Linked DNA regions of Homo sapiens: regions 1, 3, 4 and 5 are each linked to region 2. Evidence: promoter capture Hi-C in 16 types of primary human blood cells and fetal thymus (Javierre and others, 2016). All regions are on one chromosome and are shown on one strand. The core of a region is centred on a gene start or on the middle of the fragment in contact, and the rest is flanking DNA. Distances in the headings are between cores, read along the strand shown. Region 1 overlaps TBC1D1 (TBC1 domain family member 1). Region 2 holds the start of TLR6 (toll like receptor 6). Region 3 overlaps TBC1D1 (TBC1 domain family member 1). Region 4 has its middle 200 kb from the start of LINC02513. Region 5 has its middle 180 kb from the start of PTTG2.

Region 1 (2,700 bases), core at 29-2,528, 740 kb after region 2:
CCCAGAAGCTTCTGTGAGACACAGGGGGTCTTAAATCGGGAGATCATTTGGGTGCACAATGCAGGAATGTGCTTGAATTCAGAGTTGAAGGAAGGACTGCAGGAAGCTTTGCTTGGGAGGAAGGGCCTCCTAAATTTGTCTGATGACACTTGGGGACAACATCTTCATCCTTTAAAGCATTTGTACCGTTTTTTGGCTTTGGAAATTTTTTTAAATCACATCTAATTTTAAAACAATAGTAAAGAAAAATGTTACCTATAAACCCACTGCCCCAAACCAATTATTTTTATTTTGCCTGTCTTCCGGTATCTTATACATTTACATTCTGGAATTTTTTAAAACAAAACAAAACAAAACAAAACAAAAAAACAATAACTCTCCTTGGAAAAGTGAGCAAATGTCCTGCATTTGAAAACCTCCCTAGGAGACAGTGAACTGTTGGAGCCGCCCAGCGCAGTGAGGCAGTAGCCTAGCTCACTACACTGTAGCCCACGTCCTTTCAGTGGGACTTTTCTCCTGCCTCTTCCTTCTCTCCTCTCCTTTTTCAAGCCACCTAGAAACAGGCAAGACGTTTTATCCGGCAGGAAATAGGAATCTTAAATTCAGCTGACTCTATTACTTTGCACTGTATTCGCTGGGAACAACACAAAGGAACTGCTTTTCTTTGAGGACATTTCAGCAACCCTCTTATTGCGTTACTGTGTATTGGAACTCTATTTGAAACTAAACTTCATGATCTCAAAGTGCAATCTTCCTATGTGAGCTTGCACTGCATCTCTTTTTCCAGCCACCTTTGTCTTTGTCAAGGCTGAGCCTTCTCAACTTTCTTCTGGAAGGCTGCGGTCCTCCAGTCGTGGCTCCGCTACATTCTATGAGTAACGGGTAAAGGGGACGCTGAAGGCTGATGACAGTGCTGTGCAGAACAACAGCACAGACAGACTGGACACACTCATCATCACGCGGCATCATGTCACCTGAATAGCTGGAGATTTTCCTGGCCACAGAAACAATCTTGTTTTCAGTCTATTTTCATCCTAAAGTCTCTCTGAAGCCTTCACTATATTGCAGGTGGCTTCTGTGTTTTTTGCCAAACCCTTAGTTTTTATACTCCTCCTCCTCCCTCATCTATTTGGCAGCATGTCCTATAGAAAAACATCAGAGGCTGAACACTGCAGCCTCCTCCTCCATCAGGAGCAAGCCAGGTCCTGTTTTTTAGATTTTTCTTCCCCCAAAGGTAGATGTGATGAGAAAGTGAACAGAGCAAGCGTCTCTCCCAGGGCCCTGCTGTACTCAAGCTAGAAAAATACAGGAAGGGGCTATTGACATTATGTGACACCAGGTAGAAGAACTGCCATTCAGCAAGGTGTGAGTATCATGTGAAGGTTAAGGCGCACACATCACTGGCAGCCGCCCCTCCAAGGAGCAGATACATACTTAATGCCAGGTAACCTATTAACTAATATATGAGCTAAGGTGGTGCAAACTGAAATATTTTACTTAGTCAACAAAGTTCTACATGTTTTTAGAGTTTATCCAGACTTAAAGGCTTATAATGAAATGGGCCCTAGGCCAAAAAAGACTATAGTGACTGAATGGCAGGCTTTGAAATATAAAACTAAGCTATCTCCATCACCATTCTCTAAGTCATCAGTGCTAAAAATAGAAATGGTTTGTAAAAACCTATCTTTTCTGTTTTTAAGTACTGAAAGATGGGATGGACTGTGGAAAAAAAAGCAGTTCTTGCAAAGTGACATCACAAGCCAGTGCGGCCTTGAGATCCCACTTCCCGCCTCTAATCCCAGGAGCCCTTGGCCAGCTGGACAACGACCCACTTAGCACAGCAGGAGTCTGTGGGATCCAGGAATGATGTAGACACTGGCATCTCTATGCATAATGTTTATGAAACTCCGAGTCTCACCACTGCCTACAAAGTCTACAGAAAAATATCTTACCTTTACAAGCTGCAGCTTTGATTTATGAAGTCATTAGAGTGAGCTTCAGAGAGCTTCAAATTACTCTGCAATAGAAGGGCTATCATTTCCAAAGTGGAGTCTGCTTGTTTGTTAACGTCTTTTTACCCATTTATGAGCCGAAGGAAAAATTTCTCTTCCAGAGCCCCAGAACTTTCTGCAAGCAGCAGCTCCAGTGCCTGGGGCCCCAGGGCAGAGATGACTCAGTGATGACCCCTCAGCCCTCCAGTCTGTGGTCAGCCTGGTTGCCTTGGTAGAATTTTCTTCACTAACCAAGTAATTTAATGCCTGAGCTGTTTACAAACCATTAACAAACAGCGCTCCCTCCTCCCCATTTCCATCCTCACTCCTCTTCATGACCCTGTATGAAAATCATAGCTAAAATGTGGAGAAAATGTAAGGAAGGTAGATTAATAATTTTCTTTTAATTTCCAGTGTTAGAGAAGTCAAAAACATAGAAGTTATTGGCAAGAAAGCTTAAAGCCTAGAGCTTGAGATTTTAGTTTCTGTAACTCTTTTGTTAATAAACTAAGCACACAATTTTGAGGCTTTTAGTTAATCTTTTTTTTTTTTTAACCATGGTATAAACCTTCATGAACTCTCACTAAAGATATGCTCAACCAGGAGATAGCTTTTTGTATCTATTTTAATTTAGTGATTTTATTTTTTCAGGGACAGAAAAGAAGGAATATGAATTCTTATAGTAAAGCAAAATGGGAAACTCTTTAAA
Region 2 (2,759 bases), core at 25-2,524:
GCCTCGACAAGAATAGTCTCCTTGTTTCTGAACATTGGTGTTGTGATGCAATCTCCTAATGAGACATGTCAATGTGCCCAGATCTGCAGTGATAGTTGTCTGTTTTCTTAAGACTTTAGTCCACGGTTACTTGAAATTCCCTCAGAGCCACAGCCAGCCCTTTCCCTTGGCTTGTTTCACAAATCTGGTTTTCCAGGGTCACAGATACCTGCTGCTTTCTGGCTGTCTCCTTTTGCCAGTGGAGCAGAGATCCATCCACTCCTTACTGAGCCTCCCCAGGCCTGAGGAGACTTCCTGTTATGTTTGATGAGTAAGGATGAATCACAAGAAGCCAGCCTTTCTCTTCCTCCTGAAAGCAGAAGTGATTCTTACGGAGATGTCCAACTTTGTCATTAGCCAAATTGTAAGGTCTTAACTTGTTGTTGTTTTTTTTTTAATAAAGATGAGATTGTGCCAGACAGTGAGATAAATTATAGAATGATTGTTTCACTCATGCCTTCTGTCCTTTGCAGAACTCAGTTAAGCAAGAAGTCTGGGGAAAAGGGTTTACTGTCCACCAGAAGTCTCTGTTTAACCAGAGACTTCTGGTAATCAGCCTTTGTTGATGTCATTCTGAAATTCTTCTAAATGGTCTTTAGAAAATTGATTTTTAAATTAGTCTTGCAGGATTTCAGTGTTATTTATTATTCCTAAATTAAAATCTAAACCATTTAATAACACCAAATGTTGATCAGAATGTGGGTATGATTGCTCGTACATATGGCTAAATATGTAGTCATAAATATGTATCAACCAGTAAACTTTCCTTAGAAGTTGATTTTTAAAAAAAAACCCAAATTGTGGAACTATACTTATTTTATTTTAAACTATCTCATCCAGCTAAAATAATGCTCAAAATTGCTTGATAAGGGAAACTGCAATTATTCTTGAAATGTTAAATATGGTGATAATAGAAAACAGGCTGTTTAAAATAACTTTCCACTCAGGTGACAAATGTAATAACCAGGCTGCAAACTCTTACAGAGAAATATTACCTTAGAAAAATATTTTTCTTCACATTGAATTGTTTGTAAGTTGCTTCCTCACACGAATTAGAAAATTGGATTACTGGTTTTGTCTGTAGCCCAGAAAAAACTGCTAACTCACCTCCGGACCTTTGAAAGGTAAAAATATACGTAGGAGTAATTCCAGTGTGGGCCAACAGATGGCACCAATCTGTTTCTAAGGTACCGCTTTACTCAACTTTAAGAACTTGTGTTTGTCAAGCATTTTCAATTGTATTTCCGTTCATTTACAAGTTATTTTCTCTTCTTCTGAAAAAGAGATCTTGGTAAGTAGAAAGACTTCTGTGGCTTTTTCACATTATGGCACAGGTGCTTCAAGTAAGCAAGTTTGCTAACCATTCATTATATAGGAAATAGGTAATGTTTCCTTGAAATTTTTGCAAAATGATTTGAAGTGGTTTTTTTTGTAGATGTTGCAAATGTCCTTTGAATTTCACGAGCAGGATGAAGAGCAGCGTCTTTACAGCTGTCTTGAAAAGATAGAAAACAACTAGCGCTTGTGGTGATAATTAAGGAACAAAACTAATGTTATTTATTTCTTCTGATTTGGCCCAGCGAATTTTCTCTTTTCGTCTTTCTCTAGTTTATTGTTTTCAGTAACATTTAACAGTAATTTTTATATACCACTGATATGGCACCTATTTATTATATGTTTTTACAGCAGACGTGTGTTTGATCTCCCTTGTCGTTTGTCACTGTAACAGTTTGCTGGTCTGTGTCTGTCCCTAATTCATAAGCTTTTTGAAAGCAGGAATTATGTCAGTCCTATTCATATTTATATCCCTGGTGCCTAGTGCGTAGCATGGCACTGGCAGAAAAATAGACTCTGAATAAACATTTATTAAATGGAGGAAGTGGCCGGGACCAAGCCCCTTCACAAGCTTGAATCTGGCACAGTGTAGCAATTGCCTTCCTCCAGGTCCTTCCACCTTCAGTTTGACAAATGAAACAATGTTTTTCTTGCCTATTTGTTAACTTGATTATGTGATCTTTCCTCCACTTATTTCACTTAATTTTTTTTCTGCTCTCTTCTTCCTTGTAGTTTTAATTTTCATAGGTCTTGTCTACCCTTTTTTTCTGAAATGTAGCTTATTTCATCTATTTCCTCACCCTTTTTATTTGATGCATTTAAAAAATCAAGAGCATTTACCTGTTTATTTTTACTTTCTTTAAAAAACTGTGAACTCTCTAATCTTCCACTCTCATCTTCCCATTTTTCCCTCCTTTTTTCCCAATAAATAGAAAAGTTACTATCTTGTTCATTTAGTGTATTCCCTAGGAACTGCCTCAGGGTATGAACGCCTCTGGAGGAATATTGCGTTTTTGTGGCAGGATACCATAAGGACAGCTGACCAGCTTTTCCACCTGGTGACTGATTTTCAGTCCCATGAACCCAGACACCGTGGGTCTGGTTGCCGGGGACCTGTAGGGTAGGTCCTCATCTGTGAATGCCAGTTATCTACTATTATCTGAAAGTTCTCCATCTTTATATTTTAATATTCCAAATAAAACAAGCACGTTTCTTTAAATATAAAATATTTTCACACAGCTATAAAGACAACTCTTAAATTGCCTTACGATAACTTTTTTGGATTATAAAGGACATTCAAAATGAGACATTTTAGGGATATCTGAAAGTATAAGAAAGAAAATTAAATTCATCTATAATTCAGAGATTCAGAGAACCACTATTAT
Region 3 (2,781 bases), core at 38-2,537, 770 kb after region 2:
TCTCGAACTCCTGACCTCAGGTGATCTGCCCACCTCGGCCTCCCAAAGTGCTAGAATTACAGGTGTGAGCCACCATGTCCAGCTGACTTGGATATTCTTAAACCCTACTAGTAAAACAAGGGCTCACCTCACCTAAACTCCTTCTTCTAATCTCATCCTTCCTGTTTACCACAGCCTTCCTCTTCCCAGGGTCTTGAAAATTCCTACTGTGTTCCTTTCAAATTCGGAATCACAATGAGCAGGTGTAACTCAGGCCAGGAGGATGGAACATTCCTAACAGTAGAGGCTGTTTGTCCCCAGATCCATGTACTCTCTGCCACTTGGGCTACTGACAAGGACCACTGTCTATAGAAGTTTATGAAACTCCGGTTTTATTTTAGTATTCAGAGAAACTGGATCTGCAAAAATACAAGTATTGTTTGGGGACGACAACTGTGAGATTTAAGACCTAAGCTGTCTCCCTAATGTTTTCTACTTTTGTGATCTTTTTCTTATTATCACTAGTGACAGTTTGTTGAGCTTTTACCATATGGGTTCTTGGCATAAATAAGCTTGTTTGATTCTTACAACAATCTCATAGGACAGGTGATATTATGATCTCCATTTTCCAGCTAAAACAAATAAGGTGCAGTGAGGTTTTATAACTTGGCCAAGGTCACACAGCTAGTAAGGGTCAGAGCCATAATAAGAAAAAAGGTGTATTTTCCTCCAAAGTAAAAAAAAGAAGAGTTTACCCCGTGCTTCTCTAACTTCTACATGCACAAGCCTCACTGGGGATCTTGCTAAATTAAAGATTTTGATTCAGCAAGTCTGAGGGGAGCATTTCCATCAAGCTCCCCAGTAATGCCTCCACTGCTGTTTCTCCAAGCACACTCTGAATAGCAGGGCTCCACGCTGCAGCTTTACTCTCTATTTCCTCATGCAACCCTATGCGCTTGCTAGCACGTCGGCTCATCTCCTTCACTCCCACCACTGAAAACACAGTTCAAATACTGTTGTTAGCTGCCTGAATTCAGGTCCTCAACACATGGCAGGAGCTTGTCCCAAATTTGGTCGGGGGATCCAGGCCAAGTCCAGAATACAAAGACATATTTGAGCACTAGTATTAATTTCACCTCTACATGAACTAAATAAAAGCTGATCCACTGTAAAGGTCAGCAAATAAACCCAAGAGTTTAAAGGAGGGTTTCTCAACCTCAGCACTACTGACATTTTGGGGCTGGATGATTCTTTGTCAGGAGGAACAGTTTTATACACTGTAGAATGTTTAGCAGAGGGCATAGTAGCATCTGCCCACCATCAATGCCTCTAGGCATTGCTAAATATCCCCTAGGGGTCAGGAGGAACAAAACCACCTCTAATAAGAACCTCTGATTCAGAGCTAAAATCTCACCATTTCGTCTCTCCTAAACCCTGGGAAGGGGCAAAAACGTATCTCTTTTATCCAAATTCATTTCACGTGGTAACAATTACTGATTTTTTTATAGTTTACGATTAACAACAAATTTGTATAATATTTTTTGTTCATATTAAGAGTAGCCTGGCTACAAAATAGCTCAGTAATTTATAAAGGGAGATAGTTAAAAATCTTTGTTCTAAATTTGGCCTGCTGAATCAGTCCAAAGAAAGTAAGCTGCTTTCTCAACAATGCAAAAAGATCCAGACTGGGCACAAGGCTTTGGTTTGTAATCAGTCCTCCTTCAGGCGTGTGCAGTCTTGAGAGATGTGGACTCGAGTGGAGTGGCAGGTCAAGGAGAACAAAATCAAAGTCTGAGGCAACTGTCAGCTAAGAACCTTGTTCTAATGATAAACCGGGGCACTGTTTTCACTTGCATCATTCCTAAGCCAATCCTACCAGCATTGAGTCCCTTACATGTATGCAGCGATGCAATGCGTTAGGTGGTCTAAGGAGGGCTACTCTGAGGTTTCTACTCTCTAGAACAATCCCAGGGATCCGGCTTCTCTCCCCGACTTGCATTCTTGCTGAGAGACAGCTGCACAGAGGCCAGTGTAGGAAGCTTGGCTTGGCTCAGTGCAGCGGAGGCTGAGCCGAAGGAGGGGCTGCTCTACCTCATGGGCCAACTGTGTTGGTGCCTCTTGGGAAAACATATGCCTTCTGGGTTCCAGTCCCCCAGTGTAAAATGTGAGAAATGATATTCACCGCCGACTGCCCAACTGTAGAGACCACAGGCACTGACAGGCATATTTATAAAGTCGGCAAAGCCACCAAACCAAAGGGCTGCGATAACAACTTAGTCCAGGATTAGATTTTACTATTCTGACATCTCCTATAATGACGGATGTGGAGCACTTAAATTATGTAGCCTTTCAGAAACAATAGCCTCCAATGGGTTCTAAGAATTTTAAAACCAGTCATAATTCAGGAGGCCTTGGAGACAACTGCCTCCTATTAAATCATTGCTGTGACACTCCCAACAGAGTCATAAATATGATCTATGCTGGTATGTCGATATTTTAGATGCCAAATTATTCCCCAACAACTCTGTGCTGTTGCATTCTTTCTATCTGCACACAAATGTGTGGGGAAGAGGATGACATTGCATCATTGTTATGAACAGAATCAATGCCATGATCGAGAAAGACAAAAAGCAACGTGCACACCACCTCCTATCTGCCCAGTATCTGGCTCTCTCAAGTGCAGAATACAGGGCTTCTTTCTTGCACTTTCACAAAGCACTGACATTAAGTTCTGAACTGCAGTTCTCCTCCTTTTAAAGACACGACATTAAATCACATGTTAAGTGCCCTGTAAGAAAGAGG
Region 4 (2,700 bases), core at 194-2,693, 690 kb after region 2:
CAGTTAATGGAAATGCAGTTTTCATTACAGTAAGGAAATTGAAATCTCAGCTGGCCTCTGTGGGTTCCATCCAACCTATCCTTCGTTGCTCATAAGATTGTGTGTTGTTTTCATTCCCCTCGTGATTAACCTCTGTCAGGAAGGGTAGGGGGAACTGGGTGATTGAAATCCCCAGGAAATCTCCACGTCGTGCTGCCAGTTTAACAATCTTCCGCAACCATCCTGACACCAGGGCTCTGAACAAGTAGGAAGGAGACTGTTTTTAATTTGAGGTAGAGATATTATCTAGTGGGGAAGGTTCTGGATGGCCAGCCTGAATTGAAGGGGTGATAGACATGCGGCCAATATGGAAGGGGAAAGAGAAAAATGAGAGAAGGTGGTGGCATCGAGGGACCCATGTCATTAAAATTTTCTCAAATGTATTGGACAACTTTCTTTGGGTGAGAGATTTGGGCCATCAATACTGTTAATGCCTCTTGCTACGGTTTAAGTGCCTGTGTTCCCCCCAGATTCATGTGTTGGAATCCTAACCCCCAAGGTGATGGTCTTAGGAGGTGGGGCTTTTGGGTGGTGATTAGATCATGACAGTAGAGTCCTCATGAATGGGGTTAGTGTTCTTATGAAAGAGATCCCAGAGAGGTCCTCACCCTTTCTATCACGTGAGGACACAGAAAGAAGAGGCCATCTATGAACCAAGAAGCCAGACCTCAAATCTGCCAGCCTTGATCTTGGACTCCCCAGCCTCCAGAAGTGTAAGAAATAAATTTCTGTTGTCCGTGAGCTACCCAGTCTATGAGATTTTGTTATGACAACCTCAATGTAAGACACCTCCCTACATAAAATATGTTTTCAACTCAATACACTTGGCTCTCTGAATTGCAATAATTTGTGGCTGTGCAAATTTTGTCTCTTGTTAGAGAAAAGTTCATTGAACAGGAACCGTGAAGACTTGTTCCTTCAGATTCTCCTTTTCTTTTATTTCTGGGTCATGTCTCAGCTCCTAATCTCTCAGAGGCCCCTCACTTCCTTTCCTGTCACTGCCAGCTTCTTCCTTGCAGATTTTATTTTTGCACCACCCACTCAACGGAGGAGGCAAGGAGCTAATAGATTTGAGAACATCTGCTGAGCCACATAAATCAAGGCGTTCAATCTTATAATTTTGTTGAGAAAGCAGAAGAGCAATAAACATCTTTATTTGGCAGAGGCCCACCCTGCTTACAGCTTAAGGTTTTATCTCTTCCCTGTTTTTTTCTGTCACTGCTCATCTTATGACTGAATGGTTTCTGGCTGCCATTTTGTTAGCCCAGAACTGAAACTGTATCTACCATGTGCAAGTAATTTATAGAAGGAAGACTATGGTAAAATCAGGAAGGAGGGAAAGTTTGAGTTTAGCAGACAGCCAGGATTAAAGGCTTCCCAAAGACCCCTGTACTCTGGCGTGTTTCAGGCGCAATCAGTTCAACAGGGAGTGGCGTTGAGGAGATCCATCTAAGCCATCCTGGAGAGCTAAGTATCTTTTCTGTCTGATTGCCCAAGGCATTCACAGAAAAAGAATTGCCATATCCTTCATTTATTCATTCATGCATCCCCAAATTCTTCTTGTTCAATCGCTCTTTTGGAGGCTACCTCTTTTTGCCATGAATGACAGAAGTTCATGGGCACGGGAACTAAATTCATCTAAGTCTCTCAAAAGACAAGCTACCAACTTGCAAGTCAACTAGGATTCGAGGTCAACAACCACTTCCCTCGTGAGTCAGTTGGGTTCAAGTTCCTCTTTAAGCCTAGAAGTTGCTCTGCTCCTACGCTTACCCTTTCACCTTGCTTCATTTCCATCTGCATTTCAGGGAGACATTTAAGCCTGCGGATGGCAGCACCAACTAGGAGACCAGAGAGCCTGACTTTCCTCACCTTCTCCTTTTGCCTGTCAAAATCGGCAAGACCACATAATGCTCCTCTCAGGCTCTAAAGAGGGAGCTGATTCCTGCCCATGGGCTTCCTGGGGAAAGGCAGGCCAGCAGTGCCAAAGGACAGATACCAGGCTGAGGAAGGAAAGAATTATATCACAGACTTTAGGGCTATGAGGAATCCTAGAGGTCATCATCCATCCCTGCACTGACAGATGGGAGTACCATGGTCAAGGACACATGCACACCTGTGGCAGAGCCAGATCTGGAAACTAGACTACTGGCTCCCAGTCCAGGGCTCTCTCCAGTGTGCCCAGTGTGCCCAAAGAGATGCTGGACTGATTGGTACCGAAGGACATTCATCAAATGCCAGAGTCCTTAATATCCCATGAAGACACCAAATAGACATAAATGTGGAACAATTGACAGAGAGAGGCAGGAACCTCTTTTTATTTATAGCCATTGGGTGCCCCTATTGGCCTATTCATGATGGAGGGGAGTTGAAGGGATCTGCAAGAGAGGAAGGGAGCAGAAGAAGCAAGACAAGAAGAACAGAGCATGGTGACCGGGAAAGTCAGTTATGGGACCAGCCTTCCCGTGTCCACATCCCAGCCCTCACACTTACTTAGGTGGGTTGCTTACACTTTCTGTGCCTCAGTTTGTTCATTGTAAAGTGGAGATAATACAACTATCTACTCAAAAGGTAAGGATTGAGTAAATTATTTCATGGAAAGCATTTAGCACAGTACCAGACTCACAGCCATTGTTCATATTACCAGGGAAGAGAAGCATTGGG
Region 5 (2,700 bases), core at 134-2,633, 710 kb after region 2:
CAGCTATTTCTGTGTCATTATGCTCTAAACTCAACATTTCTCACTATGTAACAGTCTCTGGAATTACTCAGATTTTCAGTAAACAGTTTTATACAATGACTGTAGAACACAGAGATAAGCAAGTGACGTGATCTGCCAAGTATGAGGTCTTCATCGCAATGGGAAAGCGAGAATAAAACAGAACTATAGATCAAGAATAAACAGACTCTGTCTTCAGTCACTGCTGTTGCTAATGAGATGTCTCTGATTCTGTACTTGTCCAGTGGGATTCCCCCTTCTATGTGAGTGGTTCTTAAACTTTAGCACACATCAGAATCCCATGGAAGGCTTGTGAAAAAAGATTGCTGACCCCACCCTCCAGAATTTTTGAATTAGTAGGTTGGTAGATCCCATTAATACAATTCTAACAAGTTTCAGAAGATGCTGAGGCTATTGGTCTAGGGCCTATACCCTGAGACCCACTGCCCTATACACACATTTAGAACCTGACATTCAAAAGTGCATCTTGCTTGAATCAGGTCATCTGGCCAGCTTGTCAACATCAATCAAGGTCCTGTCTGTCATTCATTGCATTTAGTCAGTGGCATCCGTGCATCCAAGAGCATGGTCCCTAGGGCCTCATACAGATCACATGACACACATGTGCACCGGCTGGCTAAGGAAAAACCCTCAGTGAGACTCCTCCTTTTTAGGCTCACCACAATCCATTATCCATCACAGCATTTTTCAATCCTAGCTAAACTTTAAATTCACTGGGGAGCTTAAAAACTAAAAACCGCCCAGGCCCTACCCCAGAGTGCATGAGTGTGTTAGCCTGGAGCACCCTTGGGCCCTGGTACTTTGAAAAATCTCTCTGGGTGATTCTATTGTGCAACCAGGGCTGAGAACCACAACCTAGAAGTCTTTCTGGTTTTATTAAATCAACACAATCGAACTCTCCTACTGCTCATGTCACTTTAACTCATTTAAGTTTTAATAAGACTTTATTTAAGGTATTGTGAGAGATGTCAAAAGCTTTGCTGACATCAAGGTATATTTTCCTACAGCTTCCCATCTTCCATTTGGTCACTGTGCTTTCAGAAACATAAAATTACATTGGGCTAGCATGACATGATCTTAAGGAATCACCTATCTTATATGTTTGCACTGTTGAGGAATTTTGCCTGGGTCCAATCTCAAGCTCACATAACTGATTTAGTTCACGTCATCATAAGTAATGATAACATTTATTGCTTGTTAATTTGGTGTCCACCACAGTACTCAGTGCTTGTCATAAATATTTGCACAATAATCCTATGAAATAGCTGTTATTTCCATTATACAGACAAGAAATCAGGGTCGGATTCCAGCTGACTCCAGGGCCTGCGCTTTTAGCCATGAGATGTCGCTTCTATTTATATTTACCTGGCTCCATCTTGTTCCTCAAATGTTTTACAGTGATTTACAAGGATATTAAAGATTTAAGAAAGCATGAAATAACTGGAATAAAGTAGAATCGGAGAGGGTCAAAATGAGTCAGAACCAAATGCCTGCACATTTGCTAATGGGAGGGCCACCAATTTGGTTTTGAGTGTTCCGGAAATGTCAAATTAAAATAGGGTCACCTGTTCAATTACACAGTTGACATCGGATTAAAAACAAACATTATTTGGGAGAAATACCTGAACAGTTCTGGGGCTTTCTTAGAGAAGGCACTGAGAATTAAAGGGAGGACTGCAAGAATATCCTCATGATCCATGCAGACAAGCTTTTCACTGGGCTCAACGAACCATAACTTACATCATCCACTTCCTACCTCATTAAATAAAGTGGGAAGTTTGGCTAGCTCTATATTTCTTCAAAGATCTCTGTCTTCCCATTTCCAGTGCCTCTTTCCACCATTGTCAACTCATTCCAAAAAAATACTAATAGCAGTTGAGCAATTTTTTTTTGCTCAAATTTTCTCAGTACCCTGGAATGCAATTTGAACAGTCAGGATTTACTTTTGTAGAATTTCACAAAAGTCTCTTTTAGGCTGTCATGCCATGAAATCACACCTAATTTTTTCCTGAACTTTAACGAATGTCTTCCCGATGCCTAGGTTCCCTTTGCAGATGATCACAGCAGGAAGTTGATAGGGCTGTGTCCACTGGCTGTCAGATCTGTAGGGGACATCATCATAAACTGAGATAACAAGGTCACCCCCTGCCAGGTGCCCACTACAATGTCCATTTCACCAACTCATTCCTCCTCGCAGTTTAATGCTAAGTTAAGAATAGCAGATTCCCTTGTGTCCATTAAAACTGTAAGTGGATCAAGCCAAGAACTTATTTATACTTATTGGACTACACAGTAATGGAACATTTATCTCTAAAAATATTGGTGTTTTCTTGCCATCTGAAAGAGACATGGTGTTAAGTGGGTGCTAAGTGGGTTAGTTTGTTTGGGCTACTCAGACTGGATAATTTATAAACAACAGTTCTAGAAGCTGGGAAGTCCAAAATCAAGGCACCAGCAGATGTGGCGTCTGGTGAGGGACTGTTCCTCATAGACGGACGGCGCCTTCTTGCTGTGTCTTCACATCTCCAGCTTCTAAGTGCACTGATCCCATTCATGAGCGTAGAGCCCTCATGACTTAATCATTTCCCAAATGCTTTGCCTCTTAATTCTATCACATTGGATATTATATTTGAACACATGAATGGAGGGGGGATGGGGCAA

The links. The method cuts DNA at HindIII sites, captures the fragments that hold promoters and counts their contacts. A CHiCAGO score of 5 or more calls a contact.
Region 1: a fragment that was not itself captured here is called in contact with the fragment with the promoter of TLR6 in region 2 in 2 of 17 cell types (naive CD4 T cells and total CD4 T cells); the score reaches 6.1 in naive CD4 T cells.
Region 3: a contact is called between a fragment that was not itself captured here and the fragment with the promoter of TLR6 in region 2, in 1 of 17 cell types (endothelial precursors). The highest score is 6.6, in endothelial precursors.
Region 4: a contact is called between a fragment that was not itself captured here and the fragment with the promoter of TLR6 in region 2, in 1 of 17 cell types (monocytes). The highest score is 6.0, in monocytes.
Region 5: a fragment that was not itself captured here is called in contact with the fragment with the promoter of TLR6 in region 2 in 1 of 17 cell types (naive CD8 T cells); the score reaches 5.1 in naive CD8 T cells.

What each region holds. Positions count from the first base shown.
Region 1 is chr4:38,119,361-38,122,060 of GRCh38, reverse strand. The region is part of intron 19 of TBC1D1 (TBC1 domain family member 1); the gene reads right to left. Among named protein-coding and RNA genes, the nearest start is that of PTTG2, 160 kb to the right of the region's middle. The HindIII fragment of the contact is 2,340 bases long and covers 109-2,448 here.
Region 2 is chr4:38,855,332-38,858,090 of GRCh38, reverse strand. TLR6 (toll like receptor 6) reads left to right here and starts at 1,274. Exons shown (of 2, transcript NM_006068.5): 1 at 1,274-1,330. RefSeq lists an enhancer at 1-825. The HindIII fragment of the contact is 10,488 bases long and covers 1-1,803 here.
Region 3 is chr4:38,084,863-38,087,643 of GRCh38, reverse strand. All of the region lies in intron 14 of TBC1D1 (TBC1 domain family member 1), which reads right to left. Among named protein-coding and RNA genes, the nearest start is that of PTTG2, 130 kb to the right of the region's middle. The HindIII fragment of the contact is 1,467 bases long and covers 554-2,020 here.
Region 4 is chr4:38,165,391-38,168,090 of GRCh38, reverse strand. No RefSeq gene overlaps it. Among named protein-coding and RNA genes, the nearest start is that of LINC02513, 200 kb to the left of the region's middle. The HindIII fragment of the contact is 5,693 bases long and covers 1-2,700 here.
Region 5 is chr4:38,143,380-38,146,079 of GRCh38, reverse strand. No RefSeq gene overlaps it. Among named protein-coding and RNA genes, the nearest start is that of PTTG2, 180 kb to the right of the region's middle. The HindIII fragment of the contact is 733 bases long and covers 1,017-1,749 here.